Regions from separate parts of the Homo sapiens genome. Here region 2 is linked to region 1. The links are contacts of gene promoters, found by promoter capture Hi-C in human tissues and cell types (Jung and others, 2019). All regions are on one chromosome and are shown on one strand. The core of a region is centred on a gene start or on the middle of the fragment in contact, and the rest is flanking DNA. Distances in the headings are between cores, read along the strand shown.

The links. The method cuts DNA at HindIII sites, captures the fragments that hold promoters and counts their contacts. A contact is called where the count stands out against the background at its distance.
Region 2: a contact is called between a fragment that was not itself captured here and the fragment with the promoter of KRTAP13-1 in region 1, in 1 of the 25 tissues and cell types used here (aorta).

Annotation. Positions count from the first base shown.
Region 1 is chr21:30,393,159-30,397,874 of GRCh38, forward strand. It overlaps KRTAP13-1 (keratin associated protein 13-1), which reads left to right and starts at 2,873. Exons shown (of 1, transcript NM_181599.3): 1 at 2,873-3,664. The coding sequence starts at 2,929. The coding sequence ends at 3,447. It overlaps LOC105372772 (a long non-coding RNA gene), which reads right to left. Exons shown (of 4, transcript XR_937653.3): 4 at 58-202. RefSeq lists an enhancer at 2,729-3,230. The HindIII fragment of the contact is 9,904 bases long and covers 556-4,716 here.
Region 2 is chr21:30,263,825-30,268,540 of GRCh38, forward strand. It overlaps the pseudogene RPL8P2. Among named protein-coding and RNA genes, the nearest start is that of KRTAP24-1, 17 kb to the right of the region's middle. The HindIII fragment of the contact is 4,144 bases long and covers 1-3,962 here.

The sequences.
Region 1 (4,716 bases), core at 1,623-4,122:
GGGGAGGGAAGTCATAAGGGTAAGCCCTGATAAACACATTTGCTGACTTTGTTAATTTGATTATTTCCAGTTAACAAAAAGTTACCCTTAGTTGTGATAGGATGGTTATCTTCAAAAAGTTCCTTGGAAAATGAGGATTTGAGAAAGAAATGGTCTTCACAGCATCTTGTGGGCTAGGACTTTTCTCGCAGCTGCCAAGAGCCTATAGACAGAAATTTAGATATTTAGAAGATCACAAGATAAAGTTGTTAAAAGTAGCTGTTTGATGTGGAGGAAGCTTCTTTGTCATTTTTTTTTTTTTACTTATGCAAGTTTTATCTAGTGAGTTCTAAAGAAAATTCCAATTAAACATACATTTACATTAAGAAAAAGTTGATACTTTCAGTATCTGTTGTATAATTACCTTTTTATTAAATAGATTTGCAATTCCATGACATTAGCCATGGCTTTATACTTCTTGAGCCCCTGACATCACATATTTGGACTTTGGCATATATTCTGTCAGGGAATTTGTCTTGAATTTTTAGAAAACATATATCCAAAGAACATAATAAAGCTATCAGACATTTTCTTATTTTGTTTTCTGTTTTGATTTGGGATTAAACAGCAGCAAAGACAAGAAAAACACCAACAACACATACAGCAAAGTAATTACTAAAAGTGAGGCTGGAGCTCCAGAGAGACACATTGTCCTGACAGGTGTCCGAGGGAGACCTGGTGTTCCATGTAAGTCCCTGATGTCTTAGAGAGACTGTCATGAGCACATGCTCAGACATCTTGGGCAGGGCATGTTAGGCAGAGGCAGAGACAGATGTAACCTAATGAAGGGTAAGCTTGAGGGTACTTCTCTTGCCTGACATTTTCCAAAGCTCTGTTATCACTCCTGGGGAGACTGGGAGGAACCCGCTGCTCCAGCTATGCTGCTGTGGCCTAGGAGTCCCTCGTGGCATCCTCAGGCTGTGGGTGTATCCGGAGAGCTGCCTGCACTACTTCTAATATATCTAGTCCCCAGGGTCAACCTTATAAACCTTAGAAAGTTTTCCTTTTTTTTTTTTTTTTTTTTTTTTGAAACAGAGTCTCACTCTGTCGCCCAGGCTGGAGTGCAGTGGCGCCATCTCGGCTCACTGCAAGCTCTGTCTCCGGGGTTCACGCCATTCTCCAGCCTCAGCCTCCCGAGTAGCTGGGACTACAGGCGCCCGCCACCACATCCAGCTAATTTTTTGTATTTTTAGTAAAGACAGGGTTTCACCGTGTTAGCCAGGATGGTCTCTATCTCCTGACATTGTGATCCGCCCGCCTCGGCCTCCCAAAGTGTTGGGATTACAGGCGTGAGCCACAGCCCCCGGCCCATAGTTTTCCTTTTAAGAAGAAGGATTGGAACGAGGATACTGCTCTGCCACAAACTAGAAGACCCCTACAACCCTGGATCCACAGCTGTTTGCAGCCGATCCTCATGCAAATTGCCAACAGATACAGGTGGGAGGTGAACCAGGGACATCTGGACAAGAGGCGCACAATCTCAGGCTTGAAGCACTGCTGAAATGAAATGACAGAGGGTGTTACAGCTGTGGCGTTGCTCACAACAAATGGCAATGTTAAAAAAAAAAAACTTTTCTGTGTCATAAAAAATAATTCAAGTATTTTTGATGTACTATTTCTAAAAGAAACACCAAGTTTTACTTCCATTTGTTCTACAGAAAATCATGTGGACAAAACCATTGTCATGTGTAGAGATGATCAAAGACCGACTATGCAACCAAAAAATGTAGAAAAAGATTATAGATGAGGATGATGATAAAGGTATATTATTGTCTTGATTTTGTGACATCTTGGGTTTTGTTAACTATGGAAGTTTTTATTCTAAGTTAATATCCATGTTTATATCTATTATTATATTCCTAATATTGTGTTTTTAATGAGGATCTCCAAATTATACTTTTCAACACCACAAAACCTAAATCCACCTCTTTAAAGAGGGCTGGGACAGAGTCACGAAAAACATAGAAGCTGGTGTTACCCCGCAAATGCTCAGAAGGCAGTCAACATTTTGAGGTGGGGGTTTAGAGGTGTTGTAGACAGGTAGGCTCCAGAACACTTACAAATATGAATGCATCATACAAAAGTCATCAAATAAGTTTATTTGAAAGCATTTTGATTTGCTTTTAGGATGGAGTCCTGAGCATCCTTCTGCTATTGTGACTACTCTGACTTGTTTCCTACCTCATCTCAGCAGTGTCTTCTACTTTCCTTTTTTTCACATGGGTCCTTATTGTTGTATTTGTATTTATTTATTTTTTGCTTTTGTTTTGATTTCTTTTTTCTAAATACTAATTTTTTAAAAAAATTTGTTCAAGATGATATCTATGTCTAGTTATCTCTCAATTCCTTTGGCTTACTTTTATATAGGCCCTCGAGACTGGACTTACAAGCACTGATTATAGTAAATAACAGATGGCAAACTATTTTGGAGAGTGTGAACAATAAGATTTCTGCCTCTAGGCCACTGACAAAAAAAGATGAATACATTGCTATCCCCACCCAAGACAGAAAGAATTTCCCAGCCAAAACAGGAGCAGATGTATAAATCATGGGCAGAGAAAATAAGAGGGGTTTTCCTGGACATAATGGAGTAGGGACTAATCACATACTGTCATAGCATTTGTAACATAAATGCATTTCATTGACGCAGAGCTGTAAAAACAAAAGGAGTTCTTCCATAAATATAAGATGAAGGGTGTTAGTTAACTGCAATGACAAAGAAGATTACTAAGTTGCTTATATGAAATGTGGGAGCTTAAATGTGTGAAGGATGACCCTGTAAGGTGCCACACCCACGGCTGAACGTATATAAATGGTCCTGTCCAGATGTGGCATGCAAACTCAGAATCTTCTCAGTGTAACTCAGCTGAACTCACATCTCCCATCAACATGTCCTACAACTGCTGCTCTGGAAACTTCTCCTCCCGCTCCTGTGGTGGCTACCTGCACTACCCAGCCTCCTCCTGTGGCTTTTCCTACCCCAGCAACCAGGTCTACAGCACTGACCTCTGCTCTCCCAGCACGTGCCAGCTGGGTTCCTCTCTCTATAGGGGCTGTCAGCAGACCTGCTGGGAGCCCACCAGCTGCCAGACATCCTATGTGGAGTCCAGCCCCTGCCAGACCTCCTGCTACCGTCCCAGAACCTCCTTGCTCTGCAGTCCCTGCCAGACAACTTACTCTGGGTCTCTAGGCTTTGGATCCAGCAGCTGCCGCTCCCTGGGCTATGGATCGAGGAGCTGCTACTCAGTGGGCTGTGGGTCCAGTGGCTTCAGATCCCTGGGTTATGGAGGCTGTGGCTTCCCTTCCCTGGGCTATGGCGTTGGATTCTGCCGCCCAACCTACTTGGCTTCTAGGAGCTGCCAGTCTTCTTGCTACAGACCAACTTGTGGATCAGGCTTCTACTATTGATCATCTTGTTAAATTGCTGATTTTGTTGGCTAATGCCTTCAATGCCTCTACTCATAACCTTTATTGTCTTCATCATGTACAGAAAGAATTAGCCTCTTATTCTATAATTATCAAGTTCTCAGTTTGTCTTTGTCCCCAAATACTGGCTGGCAGGCTTCATCTGAAAAACTGTAATTGGAGAACTAGCTCAAAATAAATCTTGAAATACACATTAAAAGTAGAATTTATATTATTCGATTTTCTTCCACAATTGTATAAAAAGTCAAATCATTTTAATCCAATAAATCCATTGGTCTCATATTCAGCTATGTTTGTGGTGGTTTTATATTGCTAGGGTTTTGGTTGTGATGTATTAGGCAATTATTATGAAACAATTGGTGTATATATATAGGAATAGGTTTCAAAATCATATGAAGTTTGCGATTCAGACAAACTTTTGGGGGCCTCAGAGATTTTTGTTATTCAAACTACAGGTAGTGGAAGTCTACTAAATTTACAGACTTTTATTCATTAAAATATCAGAATCAGGAATTAGCTTGATCCCCTTATAAAATGTGGATTCTTGTGTCTATGCCAACAAGCATAAGGTAGCAAACTAGTTGATAGTTATATCAGGAATCTGCAGAGAAAAAAATACTATTTAGAACAATATGGTTATAGATATACATAAAAGAAAAATGGAATTGAAGAGAAACAAAAGTGATTTGAAGTAACTTTTGAAGTCACCCAATATTTGTTGGTAATCATGATCAAATGCCTGCATCTCATTGATGAGAATTCAATATGATTCAGTTATCTACATATGTGTAATAAGGGATACCATGAAACTTGAATGGAGGATTGATATTCCACCTTGGTTTGTATTCATGTTTCACACTAAGTAAAGCTGAAGATAATAACCTTTTGATATCATCAGAAGTGATAATTTAATTCACATCTGAGCATAAAATTAGGGAAATGTTATTTCTCTTTTTTGTGGTAGCATTCTTTGTTTTCTCAGGCAAAGCAGTTCCAGAAACAGGTGTGAAGATAAATAGATTTCAATAAGGAACCTAAAGTTGAGAAGAAAAAAAGAGCTCAAACAACGTTCAATAACTATTCCCATGCATTATTCCTTTAGACAACAGCTGTTAGAGAAAGAGATCCATTATACATGTAAATGATGTTAAATGTAAAAATATGGAGACACAAAGATGATAAGGAATGTACAGGGAAACTTATTGTACGATATCTTGAAGGAGCTGCAAATTTTTGACTTGCAAAGACAGA
Region 2 (4,716 bases), core at 641-3,140, 130 kb before region 1:
ATTGTACCTCTCAGGCATGGTATCCACAGAGAGAACATTGCCAATGTTGAGCTGGGCAACATTTTACTATTTCATATTAAAATGAGGTTTAATATTTTATAATAATGGTGCTAGAATTTCAATTCATAATTTGAAAATGTAACAAGCATTTTTTTAAAGACTCTGTCTCTCAAGCCCTCCACAAAATGTGACCTCTTCCCACAATCAATTGAGACTTGCAGTGGCAAACCCCTCTCTTGCTGAATTTGATTGATCCACCTTCCATCCTGATTTCCACAGAGACCCTGGGCTGGTGCTGATGGAGCATTTTTTGTCATGGGGGAGGAAATGATCCTTTCAGAACATTTAGCAATAAAAGCAGTGCAAAAATAAATCAACGTCCCTGACCTTTCTCTCTCCCTATTTTTGGCAACAAACCTTTTACTCCAAGTTGTCATTTTTCTACCCATGCTCAGAATCACCTTCTTATTCTCCAGGTGTTCCTAAAACTTCTCCATAAATTTCTCAGTGGCGTCTCCATTTCTTTCTATTTCCAGTTATGTCCCCATGGCTGGCTTTGAGACCGTTAGTATCACGTATTAATTATTCATCTTCTGTCATCTTCCTACCTTACATTCCACTACTGGTAGTAATTTAGCTGATTATTTTCTGTATTTTCAGTAAAAGCCTTGTTAAATGAAAATCCTTAAACATGTATTCTGTGAACAGGTTCTCACCATTATCTATAATAATAATATAGATTGAGTATCCTTAATCTGAAAATCCAAAATTCAAAATGTTTCAAAATCCAAAACTTTTTTAAAAAATTGTATTTTATTTTAGGTCCTGGGATACTTGGGCAGAATGTGCAGGTTTCTTACATAGGTAAACGTGTGCCATGGTGGTTTGCTGCACTTATCCCAAAACTTTCTCAGCAGTGACATAATATTAGAAGGAAATGCTCCTTGGAACATTTCAGATTTGGGATTTTCAAATTTGGGATGCTGAACCATTGTAATGCAAATATTCCATGATCCGAACAAATCTGAAATCCAGAATGCCTTTGGTCCCAAGCACTTTGGATGAGGGATGCTCAATCCGTAATAACAGTAGCTGTGGTAATAGCTATCTTTCACTAAGTAGCTACATTATTCCTGGTACATTTCTAAGCTCTTTAAAATATACGTATTGTCTCATTTAGCCCTTACCATCACTTGATGGAGTTTTATTGCAATCCCTATTTTACAGACGAGGAAACTGACATGTAGAGTCTGAAAGTAGCATCTCAGGCCCCATGCTTGTAGGCCTACAATTCAAACTCAGGCTCTTCTGCCTGGAGACTTTATGCTTTACTATTCTATACCGCTCCTAGATGTGGGAGAGCTAACCCACAAGGTTTACATATTCTAAATTTTAGCAACTGATGTCAAATTGACCTTAAAATGGACGCTATAAATTTAACTCCCATTATAGTTAGTAATAGTTATAATTAGTAAGCATGAATAAGACCTGCTATTTGATAGCAAAACAGGTGACAGTAGTCAATAATAATTTAATTGTATATTTTAAAATAACTAAAAGAGTATAATAAGATTACATGTAAAGGGATGGATATCCTATTCTCCATGATGTGGTTATTATGAATTGCATGCCTGTATCAAAACATTTCATGTACTCCATAAATATATACACCATGTAGCTACAAAAATTTAAAATTAAAATTAAAAAAAATAATAAATTTAACTCCCAGAAATATTGAACAATAGTGGTGCTTTCAGTCTTTTATTTATATCTACCTACCAGATCAGGAAAACCAAAATCTCAGGTCTTAAAATGTGTATTCCTGGGTGTTGAAGGCCGAACGAATGAGGGTCATGATCAACTCAGTATACCACTGAAGGCCATATGAGTAAACAGCAAACTGTTTCTCATGAAAGCAGGATGTTGGCAAACTGACAAACTGGGTCTGCCACCCAGAAGGAATGCTAAGGGCTGCCACGACCCAGGCACAAGTGTTTCTTGTGATTAGGCACATCTGAAGCCTGTTAGCAATAAAGTGAACCTGTGATCAATGAAGCAGCTGACCAATTGTTACCTCCTCCTCCCTGCTCTTTCTACTCAATAAATACGAAGGGCTGTAGAAGCTCAGCACGGCTGCCTTTGCTCATTAGGAGAAGGGAGCCCTTTTCTTCTTCCCCTGGCCCCTTCCTTTAAAATAGTTTCTTTTGTCTGAAGCTTTCATTTCTATGTTCTTCCTCCTTCGTTCAGTCTCCTAATGACAGTCTCAGGTAGTAACAGTAGTAACTGCCGTAGTGATAGTCTCAAGTAGTAACTGTGGAAGTCTGCCATACCTGGGGGCAAATTTTAGCCATAAAAATATACTGTATTCTTCAGTGCATTAGTCTGAATTGTTGAATGTTGGAAGTGAAAGAATACAGAGTGGTACTATAGCCTCCTATTTTATGATGGTAAAACCTGAGTATCTGAGGGTTAATATGACTTCCATAAGTTTCCACATAGAAATACAAGGTTTGGGGAGAGCTCAGATGTTTTCTATCTTTTAAAATGCTATTTCTGCTCATCAGCACTGCCTCCTATAACCACTTCTTTAGAAATTACACTTAAGTAAAGGATTTCATGTTGATTATTTGATAGATGTGCCAAAATACTGTGCTGGACATTGAATGCTCATGCTAGAGGTCAAAGAAGGCACCTAGGAAGGCAGGATGTAGGATAATAAGTCCTCTTTTCTAACCTCTTGTACTATTCTCATGAAAAATAAAATACTAAGAGAATAGAAAATGAAGGAAAACCCTATGCGTAGAATCAGCCCGTACGTTTCTGGCTACCCACCAAGCATACTTATTTTAGCATTTGTTTATGATACAGACTTTGTGATTACAAAAGCAGCCATAGATTATCCAAACCACTAATGTGAAGACGAGTAACAGAATTGTGAAATTGGAATGCATCCCAGAATTAATTGTAGATAAAGGCCTATCATGCCATATGACAGACAAGTGATTGAGGACTAGAGACGTTAAATTACTTGCCCAAAGTAACACTGCTAGTTAGTATCGAAACCAGAATTTGAATTTAAGTTTTCTAAATGTATACATTTCCATAAAAGTAAGAATCGATCTACTCAACTTGTTCAACAAATGACTATTAAGGGATTATTAATTGCCAGACAATAATCTAGCCATTGACAATTTGATGGCAAGACAGATATCTTTACTATTTCCCTGGCATTAATCACCAGTGGGGTTAGAGAATGTGGAGAATGACACCCCCACCTCCAAGTCTCAGCTCTCAGTGTTGACGTCCATGTGGCGGGAACACCACTAGGAAAAAGTTTCTGACCTCCCTCTGTCCATTAGGCAGGTAGAGGGAGGTTTTCTTGTCTGATCAATGGGCTTGGATATGGAATTAGGCATGCTTAATCAGCACCTCCTTTCCTTCCCATCAGGTAGCTTCTATTCTGCTCTACTTCTCTCCTAAGCGTGATTAGGACTCCAGTGGTCTAGCACCGTCTGTCTCTAGGTGAATGTCTTAGCCCATTTGGGCTGCTGTAACAGAAGTACCATAAATTGAGTGGGTTATCAATAACAGAAGTGTATTTATTATAGTTCTGGAGTCTGGAAAACAACCAAGGCACTGGCAGACCCAGTATCTGATGAGGGCCAGCTTCCTGGTTGAAGACTGCCAACTTCTTTGTATCTTCACACGGTGGAAGGGGCAAGGCAGTTCTCTCTGATTGTTTTATAAGAGCATTAATCCCATTCATAGACGGCTTCTCCCTCATGACCTAATTATCATCTCCTAAATGCTCTATCTCCTAATACCATCAAGTTGGGGGTTAGGATTTCAACATATGAATTTTGGAGGGAACATAAATATCCAGGCCATAGCAACAGCTCAATCTATTTAATTCTGGAATTAATATCAGGAACACCTCTTACCTTTATATAGAGTCACCTATCTCTGTGAGAAGTAATTTCAGTAGTAAAAACAGCAGTTTACTCTTATTTGCTGACTCTTTTATTCTATTTTTCATTTGGTTCAAAAATTGCTGAGGGAAAGGAGTGTTACATTTGGGATCGCCATCAAACCTAACACAAAAATTCAGATCAATTTTTATGTAGCAAAAGTCGAAGGCCCTATAGAAACATGCAAGGGTAGTTTAGAAGATATGAAGGCTGTACTACCTAATTTTAGGTCATGTAATTCTGATTTGCTATCTATATTTTATTTGTGTATTAGTTTGCTTTTTTTTTTTTTTTTTTTGAGGTGGAGTTTTGTTCTTGTTTCCCAGGCTGGAGTGCAGTGGCATGATCTTGGCTCACTGCAACCTTTGCCTCCCAGGTTCAAGCGATTCTTCTGCCTCAGCCTCCCGAGTAGCTGAGATTACAGGCACCCGCCACCAGGCCCGGCTAATTTTTTGTATTTTCAGTAGAGTCAGGGTTTCATCATGTTGGCCAGGCTGGTCTCGAAATCCTTACCTCAGGTGATCCACCCACCTCAGCTTCCCAAAGTGCTGGGATTACAGGCGTGAGCCACTGTGCCGGGCCTAGTTTGCTTTTAATAATGGGCCCGTCTTGCTTTTGAAATAGGCATCTTTTATACTGAAATGATATTATAATTCACTAGAGAGAGATTCATTACAATGTGTGCCTATTCTAAACCTCACCCAAGAGTTTCTTTGCTCACATAGGTATAGGATAGTGACTCATACCA